Regions from separate parts of the Homo sapiens genome. Here all the other regions are linked to region 1. Evidence: promoter capture Hi-C in 16 types of primary human blood cells and fetal thymus (Javierre and others, 2016). All regions are on one chromosome and are shown on one strand. Each heading gives the region's core, a stretch centred on a gene start or on the middle of the fragment in contact. The rest is flanking DNA. Distances are from core to core; before and after follow the strand shown. Region 1 holds the start of MCM7 (minichromosome maintenance complex component 7). Region 2 holds the start of SRRT (serrate, RNA effector molecule). Region 3 overlaps ZNF655 (zinc finger protein 655).

Region 1 (4,540 bases), core at 541-3,040:
AGGCAGCAGCTCTTGTACGGCATCAGCAAAGAGCTTCGCGTAGCGCCTGGCATTCTCACAAATTGAGTCCACCAACTCGGGGTCATCCTCGGCTACGTCGTCCAGGTCCACATACAGAGCCACCTGTTCCCGATGAGCCAGCCGAACCTCAAGTGGGGAAGAGACAGAAACACCTCAGAGCCACATTCACTTTGCTCACCAGTGTTCATATGTGAAAATGCATCACTGAGAACTCAGCACAGGCTCTGGGCATCCACAGGGGAGAACGCAGCGCCACACAGAGCGATACTCGCTTTTCAGCCCTCAAACCCTCTAATTGTTATGTCTTTAATAAAACAAGCCAAGCTGCTGCTTATGGCTCCTTAAGCACCCCGCTCCCCATTCCCTTTACCCAATCTTAGACTTACCAACTGGTTCCCATACTTGAACTGCTTCTTCCCGAGTTCATCATCCTGGTAGAACTCTTGTAAGAACTTCTTAACCTTTTCTGTAACATGAAATGTAAAACCGTAAGACACAAACTTTAAGACAAATCTTAGATACCCATTTTCGCTTAAAACACGACCTATGAACTAATTAATAATATGAGCATTTAAATAAACCTACCGAAGTCTCCCCAAAGTGGGCATAACTCTTTTTCACAAGTCTGTTTCTAACCAGCGAAGAATAAAGAGCCCGTGGCAGTGCACAGGGCCATCCAACATCTCCCCAGGGGAATTCCGGTCCCTACTTTAGTTTAAAATTCTAGCGCCCTTCCCCGTTGGCCCCTCACACTCCGGTCTCAAGGTTCTCAGCTTTCTTTCCACCCCTATGATCCCCCGCCTTCTTTGGGTCCCCTTAGCCCCTGATTTCACCGGGACCTCCGCCACCGCACCCCGCCACCGCACCCCACCCCCGCTCCCGCCATCGCTTCCGCTCTTAGTAAACAAAGAAGCACATGGGCCCGGATTCCAGCCGCTTCACAGCTCGGGATTCCTCCGCCCAGGGCGGGAGCCAGTCCAGCCATTGGCCATCACACCCAGAGACACCGCGATCCCAGCCCACTGCCGCCTTTCCCGGGCCCGAGCGAAGCTCCGGATCCCAGGCACGCCCCCCCGGGCCGCAGCTCTCTCCGCGGCCGCCGCGCGGAAGGACACTGTTTACACGACACTCCCTCCAGCCTCCTCGCGCCACTTCCGCCCGGCTCCACTTCCGCTCGGAGGGCGGCCTCAAACGGCCAATCCCGGCGCGCAGCGGCCCCGGCCTGCCCGCCCCCGGGGCCTACGCGCGCCTGGGGAGGGCGCGGGAACCTGGGAATGCCCAAAAGCGCGAAGGAAAGCGGGCACGGGAGCCCAGAGCCCTTAAGACTCTCCTGAGGTCCTGGGCGCGACTTTTCCCTGTGCAGCCCCCAGCCGGGTTAGCGCGCCCCCAAGCCCCCAACCCCACGACCCTAACACCTTTACCAGGTGGGATTACTAGCTTTTCTTCAACATCGATGGCCCCCCGCACGCTTCCCAGGCCCCGTGGGCCTTAGCCAGGCCGCAGCTCGACCCTGCCTCTGGCCTCGCGCACCCCAGAACCCGCCGACCCCGGTCCCCCAAGACCCCAGCTCACACCAACAGGTGTTCCCCGGGAGGCTCCCCGCGCAGGACGCCCTCCCGGGCTCGTAGACCCGTACCCTTCTCTAGCGCGTAGTCCTTCAGTGCCATCGCTGCCGAGGGCCGTGCGGCCGCGCTTGGCGGGCTCAGAGGTCTTGCTCCTGGGGAAGCTGAGAATCTCCGCGCGGTGGACTGTGGCCGGCCAACCGAAATTGGCGCGAAACGTCGCCCCCCACGTGACCGGCGCCACTGCGTGCGGGCCAATCGGACAAGGCGGCCTTCTTCACCTCCCGCTAGCCGCAAGCCAATCACCGTGCGGGCCTAGAATGAGTGACGGGGAGGCGGTGCGGGCGTCGGAAGGGAATCTCCGGGCGGGGTAGTGCAGGCGCCGGGTTTCCCGCGGTCCGAGCTGGCGCGGGCGGAGGAGAATCGCTCTTAAAGGGCCAGCGCACACGCGTTCTTTTGTTCCGGGGCCGCAGGGCGGGGCAGGCCCGACTTTCGCCGTCTTCTTGTCTACTCTCCAGAACGGCCATGATTTCCCAATTCTTCATTCTGTCCTCCAAGGGGGACCCGCTCATCTACAAAGACTGTATCCTAGACCCTTGGGGCTGGGAAGGGGCGGAGGGGCCGGGCGGGAGGGGCGCCCAGGGCCAGCCTGTGTCGCAGGATCCTTCACTGAGTCCTTCCACCCGCCAGTCCGCGGGGACAGTGGCGGCCGGGATGTGGCCGAGCTCTTCTACCGGAAGCTGACGGGACTGCCAGGAGACGAGTCCCCGGTTGTCATGGTAACCAGTGGCGGGAGGCGGGTGAGGAGCGGGGTCCCGTCGGGCCGGGTGGGCGCCAGCTCCCTCCCAGGACTGGTTCATTGGTAGATTCCACTTGGGGGGTGCATTCCGCCAAATAAAGCTAACGTGAGGCCCGGCGCGGTGGCTCACGCCTGTAATCCCAGCACTTTGGGAGACCGAGGCGGGCGGATCACCTGAGGTCAGGAGTTCGAAATCAGCCTGGCCAACATGGTGAAACTCCGCCTCTACTAAAAATACAAAAAAAAAAAAAACATAGCTGGGCGTGGTGGCGGGCGCCTGTAATCCCATCTACTCGGGAAGCTGAGGCTTGAGAATCGCTTGAATCCAAGAGGCAGAGGTTGCAGTGAGCCGAGATCCGGACACCGCACTCCAGCCTGGGAGACAGAGCGAGACTCCCTCTCGGGGTAGGTGGGGGTGGGGAAAAAAAAAAAAAGAGTCAATGGGCGCCAGCAACACACCAGGCCCAGCTCCCTGCGTGACTCCATCCTCAGCAACTCGGGGTAGTTAGTGTAATTAACCCCCTTTCCACATTGGGAAGCTGGGCCCAGGCATATGTCATGTATCTCCCAAAGGCACTGCTGTTGTGACTAGTAAGAGGCATCGGGATCCGAGCTCAGGTCTCCTGGGTTCTGATCACTCCACCTCCCTTTTTTTAACGCCTCTCTTCTCCCTGCCTGTGTCTCAGCATCACCATGGCCGTCATTTCATTCACATCAGACACAGCGGCCTCTATTTGGTGGTCACAACTTCAGAAAACGTTTCTCCCTTCAGCCTCCTAGAACTGCTCTCCAGGTGAGGAGGGTTGGGCTGGGCACCTGGTAGCTAGGAGGGGTCTGAGAGGAGGAGAAAATACACGCTCCAAGTGTTTCCTCAGGTTGGCCACCCTTCTGGGCGATTACTGTGGCTCCCTGGGCGAGGGGACCATCTCCCGCAATGTGGCTCTGGTATACGAACTCCTGGATGAAGTGCTGGTGAGAATCAACAATCCCCTTCTGTGGCCCCTACCCAATTCCCCTGAAGATACATCTGCTCTTCTACTGTGGGATGCCGTGGTTAGGAGGCCAAGTCTACCTTTTTTTTTTTTTTTTTTTTTGCTTTTAGAGACAGGGTCTTGCTCTGTTGCCCAGGCTGGACTGCAGTGGTGCAGTTATAGCTCACTGCAGCCTGGAACTCCTGGGCTCAAGCCGTCCTCCTGCCCCAGCCTCCCCTGTGCCTAGCTAATTGTTTATTTTTTGTAGAGACTAGAGTCTCACTGTGTTGCCCAGGCTGGTCTTGAACTCATGGCCTCAAGCCATTCTCCTACGTCTCGGCCTTCCAAAGCGCTGAGAGTACAGGAGTGAGTCACCATGCCTGGCCCCACTCCCCCTCTTTACCCCTTCCCTCCACTGATCACTCAGACTGTCCTTCCTTTACCACTAGGACTATGGCTATGTACAGACCACATCCACGGAGATGCTGAGGAATTTCATCCAGACGGAAGCTGTGGTCAGCAAGCCCTTCAGCCTCTTTGACCTCAGCAGCGTTGGCTTGGTCAGTAGAGGGAAAGAGGAGGGTGAGGAAAGAGAAGAGGGGTTGGCTGGGGTTGTCAGACCTGATGATTGATTGCTTTGGATGCTTTACAGTTTGGGGCTGAGACACAACAGAGCAAAGTGGCCCCCAGCAGTGCAGCCAGCCGCCCCGTCCTGTCCAGTCGCTCTGACCAGGTGAGGGAAGGATCCATGGGGTCAGACGCTCTGGTTTTGCTCTGGGATCCGGGAGTCCAAGATCTTAGGTCGGGCACAGCGGCTCACGCCTGTAGTCCCAGCACTTTGGGAGGCCGAGGTGGGCAGATCACCTGATGCCAGGAGTTTCAGAGCAGCCTGGCCAACATGGTGAAAACCTGTCTCTACTAAAAATGCAAAAAAAAAAAAAAAAAAAGAAAAAGATCTTGGCACATCTCCCACCCCCCCAGATGTGGGTGGAGGTGGGAGATGATCCCTTCCATCACCCATGTCCTCACCCTAGAGCTGTAGCTTTGACTGTCCTGTTCTTTCTCCCTGTCTGTCCATTTCAGAACATAGGCTATTCTGCTTCCAACCACCCAAATTCTCTCTCTTTCTCAGAGCCAAAAGAATGAAGTTTTTTTGGATGTGGTCGAGAGATTGTCTGTACTGATAG
Region 2 (4,540 bases), core at 1,378-3,877, 770 kb after region 1:
TTCTCTTTGACATCGTCCCTTCCCCAAGACCTAAGGCCATACCTCTGGCCTCTCTGATTCCCTCCTGTGCCCCACCTTCTCTGGGTTCCATTGTTGGTGCCCTGCAACCCCAAGGCTTGATGGCCTTCTTGGTTCTCTTCCCCTGCAGGAAGTTTGCCCCAAGATGCTCAGTGTGCGGTGGGGCCATAATGCCTGAGCCAGGTCAGGAGGAGACTGTGAGAATTGTTGCTCTGGATCGAAGTTTTCACATTGGCTGTTACAAGTGCGAGGTCAGGGGCCCCCAGCACGTGCAAGGGGCTGGCAGTGTCTAGGGTGCTGGGTAGAGCATGAGGGGGAACACAGAGGTCTGGGGTTGATGGAAACCTGTTGCTTCTTTCTTTTTTTTTTTTTTTTGAGACGGAGTCTTGCTCTGTTGCCCAGGCTGGAGTGCAGTGGCACAATCTTGGCTCACTGCAACCTCCACCTCCCGGGTTCAAGTGATTCTCCTGCCTCAGCCTCCTGAGTAGCTGGGATTACAGGTGCTGGCCACCATGCCTGGCTAATTTTTGTATTTTTAGTAGAGACAGGGTTTCACCATATTGGCCAGGCTGGTCTTGAACTCCTGACCTTGTGATCCTCCTGCCTCGGCTTCTCAAAGTGCTGGGATTACAGGCGTGAGCCATCGCGCCCGGCCAATTGTTGCTTCTTTTTCAACAGGAGTGTGGGCTGCTGCTCTCCTCTGAGGGCGAGTGTCAGGGCTGCTACCCGCTGGATGGGCACATCTTGTGCAAGGCCTGCAGCGCCTGGCGCATCCAGGAGCTCTCAGCCACCGTCACCACTGACTGCTGAGTCTTCCTAGAAGTACCTGCTGGGTTCTCAGTTCCAGTTCCCATCCTTTGATTGATCACTCTCCCTGACATCCACCTGTATGACTTTGTCACCAAATGCTGTCTTCTCTTTCTCCAATCAAGAAATAATAATCCCTCGAGTTTACAAAACACTTCCAAGTCTGTTGTCTCATCTGATTCTCCCAGTAGCCCATTACAGGCCCAGTCATTGTTACTGCCTGCATTTTTTTTCTTTTTTTTTTGAGACGGAGTCTGGCTCTGTCACCCAGGCTGGAATGCAGTGGTGCCATCTCGGCTCACTGCAACCTCTGCCTCCCAGGTTCAAGTGATTCTCTTGCCTCAGCCTCTTGAGTAGCTGGGATTACAGGCGCCCGCCACCACGTCTGGCTAATTTTGTATTTTTAGTAGAGACGGGGTTTCACCACCTTGGTCAGGGTGGTCTTGAACTCCTGACCTCAAGTGATCTGCCCGCTTCACCCAACCAAAGTGCTGGGATTACAGGCGTGAGCCACCGCCCTTGGCCACTGTCTGCATTTTTACATGTGAGGATGTCAGAGCTGAGAGGTGACTCCCCCAGATTGCATGGTTCTTAAATGGTGGAACCTGGGTCTTTTTGACTCAGGTCCAGTTTTTTTTGACAACTCTTGTAATCCGTCACTACCCTCCTCTCAGTGCTGGGAGCAAGCACGCCTCAGGGAGGAGGCAAGATTTCCTCTATGTATCTATTTTGAGACAGGGCCTCACTCTGTTCCCCAGGCTAGAGTGCAGTGGTGCAATCAAGGCTCACTGCAGCCCTGAACTCCTGGGCTCAAACAGTCCTCCTGGCTTAGCCTCCCCAGTAGCTAGGACCACAGGGGCATCCCACCAAGCCCAGTTATTATTTTTTTGTGTGTAGATGGGATCTTGCTATGTTGCCCAGGCTAGTCCTGAACTCTTGGGCTTAAGTCCTCCCTCCTCGACCTTCCCAAGTGCTGGGATCACAGGTGTGAGCCAATGTGCCTGGCCCTAAATATTCTGTAAAGGGGCCTTGCTATGTTGCCCAGGCAGGTCTCCAACTCCTGGGCTCAAGTGATTCTCCCACGTCGGCCTCCCAAAGCGCTGGGATTGCAGGCGTGAGCCATCTCAGCTGGTCTTCCTATTAAGTCTCACACTCAATTCACTGAGAGGGGCCTTGGTGTTACTCCCGGGGGTGGTAATCCATTGAATCTGGGCGGTCCATACTCTGTTTAGGGCGTTAACTTACAGCCTATTTCATCCAAATACTGAGCGGGGTTAAGACTGAGATCTGCCAATTTTACTTAAAGACGGGGCGTCTTTGTCGAGGAAAAGCAGGAACGGCGGACTTTGCATTTAGTGCGCACTGTGGCACCCAATTTTGGCTGGATATTTGGAGCAGAAAATGGTGGGATACGATGCTTTAAAATGGTTGCTTCCACCTTCCATCCCCTAAGCGCCCGCGCTTCCCAAGCCCACGCCCTGCCCGAGGAGGGGACGAAATCACCCCCGGTGAGGTCAGGAGGCCCGTGGGGGGAACATGGCTGGATGAGAACCGTCTTAGGACCCCGACACATCTGGGGTCGCGCGATCCTCGACTTCCGCTCTCCCTTCGCGCCCAGAGGGCTTGTTCGCCTCCCGAGGCCGCGCTTGGCCCAGCCGAGGTCCCGTAGTTCCTAACGCTCGAGCCGTTATCGTCTCGAAAAGCCGCGCGAGACTTGCGAGATCCCCGCCCCTTTCCCATCACGCCCTGCTCTCCCCGCCCTTCGCGCTCGGTTTGTTAGTTCCAGTTCCGGCCGCGAGGGTGGAGCTTTGTGCCTCGGAGGCGTGGGTGACGCAGGCGCAGCGCGGGCTGCGCGCGCTACTGCCCATCCCCGGTTGTCCCACTTTTGTTCGCCTCTCTTCGGCCCTCTACTCAAGAGCTCCGTCTCCGTCTCGCCCTCCTCGAAGTCCTCGTCGCGCGCCCGCGACCCAGGTCGCCCTGAAATCTAGCCCGTCCGAGCGCGAGTCCAACGGCCGCGGCCGCACCAAGGTGGGGGAGGGGAGGAGCCTGGGGGGCCCCGCTGGGGCGGGAGAGGAACCGGGGTCCACGGGGGCGGGCGCGGAGAAACTCGGGGCGAGTGGAGGTGTTGGAGCCGCGTTCTCAGGCCTAGGATGGTGGGGGCCGCGGAGGGCTGGCCTTGGCGGGAGGGAAGCGGGCGAGCTGCCCGCGAGGGACGGTCCCTTCCTCCGCTCGTCCTTTTGCACCACTCCTACCGCCTCTCCCCGGTCCCCAGGCCCCCTCAGACCGTGCCATGGGTGACAGTGATGACGAGTACGATCGAAGGCGCAGGGACAAGTTCAGAAGAGAGCGCAGCGACTACGACCGTTCCCGCGAGAGAGATGAAAGACGTCGAGGGGACGATTGGAATGACAGGTGAGCCGTTTTTAACTTCATCTTGTCCCCGTTTCATGCCGTTTCACTCCACCCGCGTCGCTTTTCTTTCTCCCCCTTGTAATTTTTATGAGGGCGAATCCTATGAAATGGCTCATTGGACCGTTTTCTGTGGTTCAGCCTATTTGCTGTTGGCCAAATAACTAGCTGTGGCTTGGTTTTTGAAATTCTCTGCAGATCAGAGCTATAGAGCTAAGAGTTTGAGTATGAAGAAGCACTGTTTATACATGCACGAAAAGCGTGCTTTTTTGCTTTTTTTTGTTTTGTTATTGAGATGGGGTCTTGTTCTGCTGCCCTGGCTGGAGTGCATTGATGCAGTCGTAGCAGCCTCCACCTCCCGGGCTCAACCGAGCCTCCCGCCTCAGCCTCTTGAGAAGCTGGGACTCCAGGGGGAGGCCATCACGCCCGCCTAACTTTTAAAAATTATTATTGTTATTTCGAGACAGAGTCTTGCCCTGTCGCCCAGGCTGGAGTGCAATGGCGCAATCTTGGCTCACTGCAACCTTCGCCTCTGGGGTTCAAGTAATTCTCCTGCCTCAGCCTCCCGAGTAGCTGGGATTACAGGCACCTGCCACCACGCCCGTCTAATTTTTGTATTTTTAGTAGAGACGGGGTTTCACCATGTTGGCTAGGCTGGTTTGGAACTCTCGACTTTAGGTAATCCACCCAGCTCGACCTCCCAAAGTGCTGGGATTACAGGCATGAGCCAGTGCTTGGTCTAAAATTATTTTTTGTAGAGACAGCGTCTTGCTCTGTTGCCCAGGTTGTAAATTATATTTTAGGAGGATTGCTTCAGAAAAATAATAATATAGAGTTGATCTGACTGGAGAGGTCGTCAGATTATTTCCCTGACAATATATGATTAGGTTTCTTGTCACTGTTTTGCCTAAAATCTCAGAGTTCATAGGGCGGTGCTGATTGGATTGATTATAAGATGTGGTTATTGACCTTAGGGTGTTACAGTGAGCTTGGCATGGGGGATCAGAATGGCAGTGGATGTATTCTGTAAATGAGTATATATAGTGGAAGTTATAAAGAGGGTAAGCATTGAGGGAACAGATCTCTAAAGGAGGGGAGCGGTGCTGGAGGTTGTGTGTCAGGGACCCACTGGAAAGTGACACTTGGCTAGACTTGGAAAGATGAGTGGGAATTCCCCAGACACGAGTGACATGAACAGCTTGGAGTTGTGGACATAACGTGTGATTTTAGCATATTCTAGTTTGGTTAGAGTCCTGTTTCTCAGGATGTCCACAGACCATAGGGGGTCTCCGAGGCTAAAATTAGT
Region 3 (4,540 bases), core at 286-2,785, 540 kb before region 1:
AGCGAAGGGCCTGACCCCAAAAGTGGAGTTTTATTCGCCAAGCCCGTGTAGTAAATCGGAGTGGGCTGACGGTGTTACCAAGACATTTCCTAGGGGGCCTGCTGTTTTATTTATTTAAATGAGTTTATTTACGTAAACGCGGGCCTGTCACGGTGGTTCACGCCGTAATCCCCGCACTTTGGGAGGCCGAAGTGGGAGGATCGCTTGAGGCCAGGCGTTCGAGTCCAGCCTGGGCAACATAGCGAGACTCCCATCTCTGCTAAAACAAAATTAAAATAAAATGAGCAATCATAACTAGCATTTTTCTCTGGGCACCAACTTGAGCCTCCAAAGACGATTGTAAATTTTAAATATTTTGTTTTGTTTATTTGAGGTGGGCTGTCACGCTGTCATACAGGCTGGAATGCAGTGGCGCAGTCATAGCTCACTGCAGCCTCTACCTCCCAAGCTCAAGCGATTCTCCTGCCTTGGCCTTTGGAGTAGCTGGAACTACAGGCCTGGGCCACCTAATTTTTTTTTTTTTTTTTTTTTTTGTAGGGACGGGGTTTCACCATGTTGTCCAGGACGGTCTGGAACTCCTGAGCTTAAGGGATCCACCCGTCTGTGCCTCCCAAACTGTTGGGATTACAGGCTTGAGCCACCGCACGTGGCCAATTTTAAATATTTTAAAGTTTCCACAGAAAGCTTTACACTATTAAATTGTACCGTGTTAATTTTTTTAATGCCACAAATTCCAAATTAGAGACTCTTCTATGATTTGGTTCTTAAGTATTTAAAGCTGAAGCATATCCATATTTCTTTTTCTTTTTTTTCTTTTTTTTTTTTTTGGGACGGAGTCTCACTGTGTTGCCCAGGTTGGAGTGCAGTGGTGCAATCTTGGCTCACTGCCACGTATGCCTTCTGTATTCAAGCAATTCTCCTGCCTCAGCCTCCCGAATAGCTGGGATTACAGACCCGCACCACCACGCTGGCTAATTTTTGTATTTTTAGTAGAGAAGAAGTTGCACCATGTTGATCAGGCTGGTCTTGAACTCCTGACCTCAAGTGATCTTCCCGCCTCAGCCTCCCAAAGTGCTGGGATTACAGGCCACTGCGCCTGGCCCCATTTTTCTGTTACTTATTTAGGGTGGTTAATCATTATCAACTAATTTTTATTGAATATCCATAGTGTGTAAGATCCTTTGCAAAGTCCTGACGATATAAAATGATGAAATGCTTTAACTTATTACAGTAATTTCTCTTAATCTTACCTTGCAGTGATGGTCATTGTCCTCCAGAGCAGTGATGGAGGAAATACCAGCCCAGGAAGCAGCAGGGTCACCAAGGGTCCAGTTTCAGTCTTTGGAGACCCAGTCTGAGTGTCTGTCCCCAGAGCCTCAGTTTGTGCAGGACACCGACATGGAACAGGGACTCACTGGGGGTAAGGCAGAGAAAGCACTTCCGTCTGGGAGAGTGGGAGTGCGGAGGGGCTCCCGAGGGGGCTCCTGGGCCTGGTTTGAGAGAGGCCAAGAACTGGAATAAGAACATGGTCCCTAGAGGGAGGAATGAAAGAGGGGGCAGATGTGACTCAGTTCAGTCCTAGTCTGAGCCCCTTTATTAAGGATAGCTCATCTTTCTCAAATAAGCAGAGTGATGGCTGCTTACTCGCTGTGGTGGTTTTTCCTTCAGGCAACCTTCACTTCATCCCAGTTCTCACATCCAGAATAATTTCTAAGATATGCTGCTTTTGCCACATCTCACAGTCCTTTCCTGGCTCTCACTTCCTCTTAGGTTCAGGACCTTTCTTTCCCCTGTTCCCTTCACTTAGTTTTTCTTTGCTTTGTCACCTGCCATCCATTCTGTTGTAACTGCAGTGTTTTGTGACTAGACTAAATTTGGTCAAGGAAGCAACCATTTAATTCCTTGGTTGAACACAATGCCTGTATGAATGTATATATACTGTATTTTGACTACGCAGTCACACTTTGCTGTATCGTATAGGTAGGTTGGTCTTTTTCTTCCTTTGTTTTATAAGAGCTGTGTCTTAGATTGCCTGTGGTTAACTCTAGTGCCTGAAATAACTTGTGTGTCACCCACACAGATCAAGTGCCACAATGTGTAGAGTGCTGTGGGGGATTGTGGGACTGTGGAAAAGATTTCGAGGAAACAGATGACCCTTTCTTGTTCTTGGGGGCCTTACACACTGGTTGAGACAGCACCCATTCACAAGAGAAACGCTGATCAAGTGTCTAGAACAGTGCCTGGAAAGGGTCAGAAGTCTGCTAAATAACCCTAGCCCAGGACAAGTCCCCACAAGTCTTTATGCTTTGCTTTGCCCATCTGCAAAACAGGTATAGTCTTACTCTTCTGTAAGAGGACTGTCATGTGATGAAGATAAAGTGAAATACAAGCTTTCCTAAGAAAATCCTGTATCACAGGTCAAAACACGCATAAGGCATGCAAGTACTGAGACGAAGCAGAGTAGACACACCCAATACCTGAAAAATGTTCATTGGTTTTACTAGAGTATTGAGGAGGGTCCTGCTGACACCCCTTGGGCTGGAGAGGCCTCCTCTGAAAGGGAGCCCTGGGAAAGGGCTGCTCTCACTCTTCACTCCTTTCTCCTCCCTCAGCTCCACCTGTTCCTCAGGTGCCTGCTCTTCCCCGTGAGGGAAGCCCAGGAGACCAGGCAGCTGCGCTCTTGACAGCCAGGTACCAGGTGAGCTGAGGAACCCTCTGCTTTTCCTCAGGGACTATTGCTACTGATGGAGTGTGGCCTCTCTCTCATCCCATCTGTAGACCTTGCCTGGAATTTTTTTCAATAGCAGACTCCAGTTTGGGAATTGATCCTCTTCGGAGACCTGGACTTCACATAAACCAACTTCCCATCTCCCCAGTGCCATGAGCAAACTCTGTTTTCTCTTTGTCCATGGTTGTGTGATGGGTGCTTATTAGATGTTTAAGGGTTATGGGCTTTATTCCGTAGGTTCTAATCTGTTCTCCCTCCTCCTCAACGTAAGTACACAGTGGATACCCTCTCTATGATCTTCATTCTCTGGCCATGGTGCTACAGTGTTCTCATTCCTCAGAGCAGCCAGGATGTGTTATTTCAGGAGTTTGTGACATTCGAGGATGTGGCTGTGCACCTTACTCGAGAGGAATGGGGATACCTGGACCCTGTTCAGAGGGACCTCTACAGAGAAGTGATGTTAGAGAATTATGGGAACGTGGTCTCACTGGGTAAGGACTTCCTTATTATTCGGTTTATCTATTTGAATTTCTTTACTTTCTTGTTTCTTCCTAAGTATAAGGTCTCTGAGAAGGTCTGTAGAGTGTGGCTTAGATTCCAGGACTTAGAACCTCTGAATCCTTATCTTTCACATCGTCTTCTCCGGGAGGGGTAATTAACGTTTGTTTGGGGGTGCCAAGAAGAGACATTCTCCTCCTTATCCCCAGTTCATGTTTATGGCCATTGTGGGGCATCTTTTCCCTTTTAGCAAAGGGAAACTTTCTTGTGCTTTGCTTGATTTCTCACCGTTCTTTTCTTTTCCATTTTTGTAGGAGAGACCCCAGGGTGGCCTCCCAACCTCCAACCAGACACTTTCCTCTTTGTTATCTCAGTGTCCCTGTATTAGAGAATTGAAGAATTTCCCATTTTTCTAGGAAAAAGAAATGCCGTTTATTTAAAAAGACAGGCTAAATTCCTTCTTGTTGAGTAGTCCCTCACCCCTTAAGATCCCCAGATGTATCTCCAAGCAGGCAGAACTTGAGATGTCATTTGAAGGCATGACTCACTGTGAGTACATTTCAGTGAGTCACCCAGAATGGTAATCCCACGTAACCACACCCAGGGCAGCAGAAATCTCAGATGTTTACCCCATGCTGAGGTGGGGTCAATGCTTAACTCATGTCTCTCCCTTGTCATTTTGAAAGGTACAGTGGGAAGCTGGGATTAGCCAAGCTGTAGTGCTGCTGGGAAGCATCAGTGGGGTTTGTCGGCAGCTCCCTTGGTGTGAGCATTGTTCCTTTTTCTTTAGTTTATTTTTTATATTATATTATATTTTTTATTTTATTTTATTTTTAGATGGAGTTTCACTCTTGTTGCCCAGGCTGGAGTGCAGTGGTGCAATCTCAACTCACTACAACCTCTGCCTTCCAGGTTCAAGCGATTCTCCTGCCTCAGCCTCCCAAGTAGCTGGGATTACAGGCATGGGCCACCACGCCCGCCTAATTTTGTATTTTTAGTAGAGACGGGGTTTCACCATGCTGGTCAGGCTGATCTCGAACTCTTGACCTCAAGTGATCCACCTTCCTTGGCCTCCCAAAGTGCTGGAATTACAGGCATGAGCCACCGCACCCAGCCTCCTTTTTCTTTAGTTTCTTGCTTGCTTCTGCACTCTTCTTTTTGTGTGTGTAAATACTGAATCATGCATTTTCTTTTCTTTTTTTTTTTTCCGTTGGCTTTGTCTATGCTGGTGGCATCCAGGGCATTGCTTTGTCTCCCTGATTATGCTCAGGATTCAAGGTCTTCTTATTTGTGGGGAGGCAGGCTGCCCACTGG

What was found. The method cuts DNA at HindIII sites, captures the fragments that hold promoters and counts their contacts. A CHiCAGO score of 5 or more calls a contact.
Region 2: a contact is called between the fragment with the promoter of SRRT here and the fragment with the promoter of MCM7 in region 1, in 1 of 17 cell types (neutrophils). The highest score is 6.0, in neutrophils.
Region 3: a contact is called between a fragment that was not itself captured here and the fragment with the promoter of MCM7 in region 1, in 1 of 17 cell types (fetal thymus). The highest score is 5.2, in fetal thymus.

Annotation. Positions count from the first base shown.
Region 1 is chr7:100,099,607-100,104,146 of GRCh38, forward strand. MCM7 (minichromosome maintenance complex component 7) reads right to left here and starts at 1,791. Exons shown (of 15, transcript NM_005916.5): 1 at 1,658-1,791; 2 at 408-487; 3 at 1-147. The coding sequence starts at 1,688. It overlaps AP4M1 (adaptor related protein complex 4 subunit mu 1), which reads left to right and starts at 2,037. Exons shown (of 15, transcript NM_004722.4): 1 at 2,037-2,166; 2 at 2,274-2,362; 3 at 3,069-3,175; 4 at 3,258-3,354; 5 at 3,803-3,913; 6 at 4,006-4,086; 7 at 4,486-4,540. The coding sequence starts at 2,109. RefSeq lists enhancers at 986-1,145, 1,491-2,043, 2,066-2,115 and a silencer at 1,256-1,355. The HindIII fragment of the contact is 6,263 bases long and covers 1-4,540 here.
Region 2 is chr7:100,872,476-100,877,015 of GRCh38, forward strand. It overlaps SRRT (serrate, RNA effector molecule), which reads left to right and starts at 2,628. Exons shown (of 20, transcript NM_015908.6): 1 at 2,628-2,853; 2 at 3,098-3,237. The coding sequence starts at 3,116. It overlaps TRIP6 (thyroid hormone receptor interactor 6), which reads left to right. Exons shown (of 9, transcript NM_003302.3): 8 at 149-269; 9 at 697-979. The coding sequence ends at 828. RefSeq lists enhancers at 1,513-2,177, 2,178-2,843, 2,420-2,469, 2,680-2,739 and a silencer at 2,880-3,109. The HindIII fragment of the contact is 10,507 bases long and covers 1-4,540 here.
Region 3 is chr7:99,559,276-99,563,815 of GRCh38, forward strand. It overlaps ZNF655 (zinc finger protein 655), which reads left to right. Exons shown (of 3, transcript NM_138494.3): 2 at 1,258-1,420. The coding sequence starts at 1,285. Among named protein-coding and RNA genes, the nearest start is that of ZNF655, 2.9 kb to the left of the region's middle. The HindIII fragment of the contact is 1,706 bases long and covers 683-2,388 here.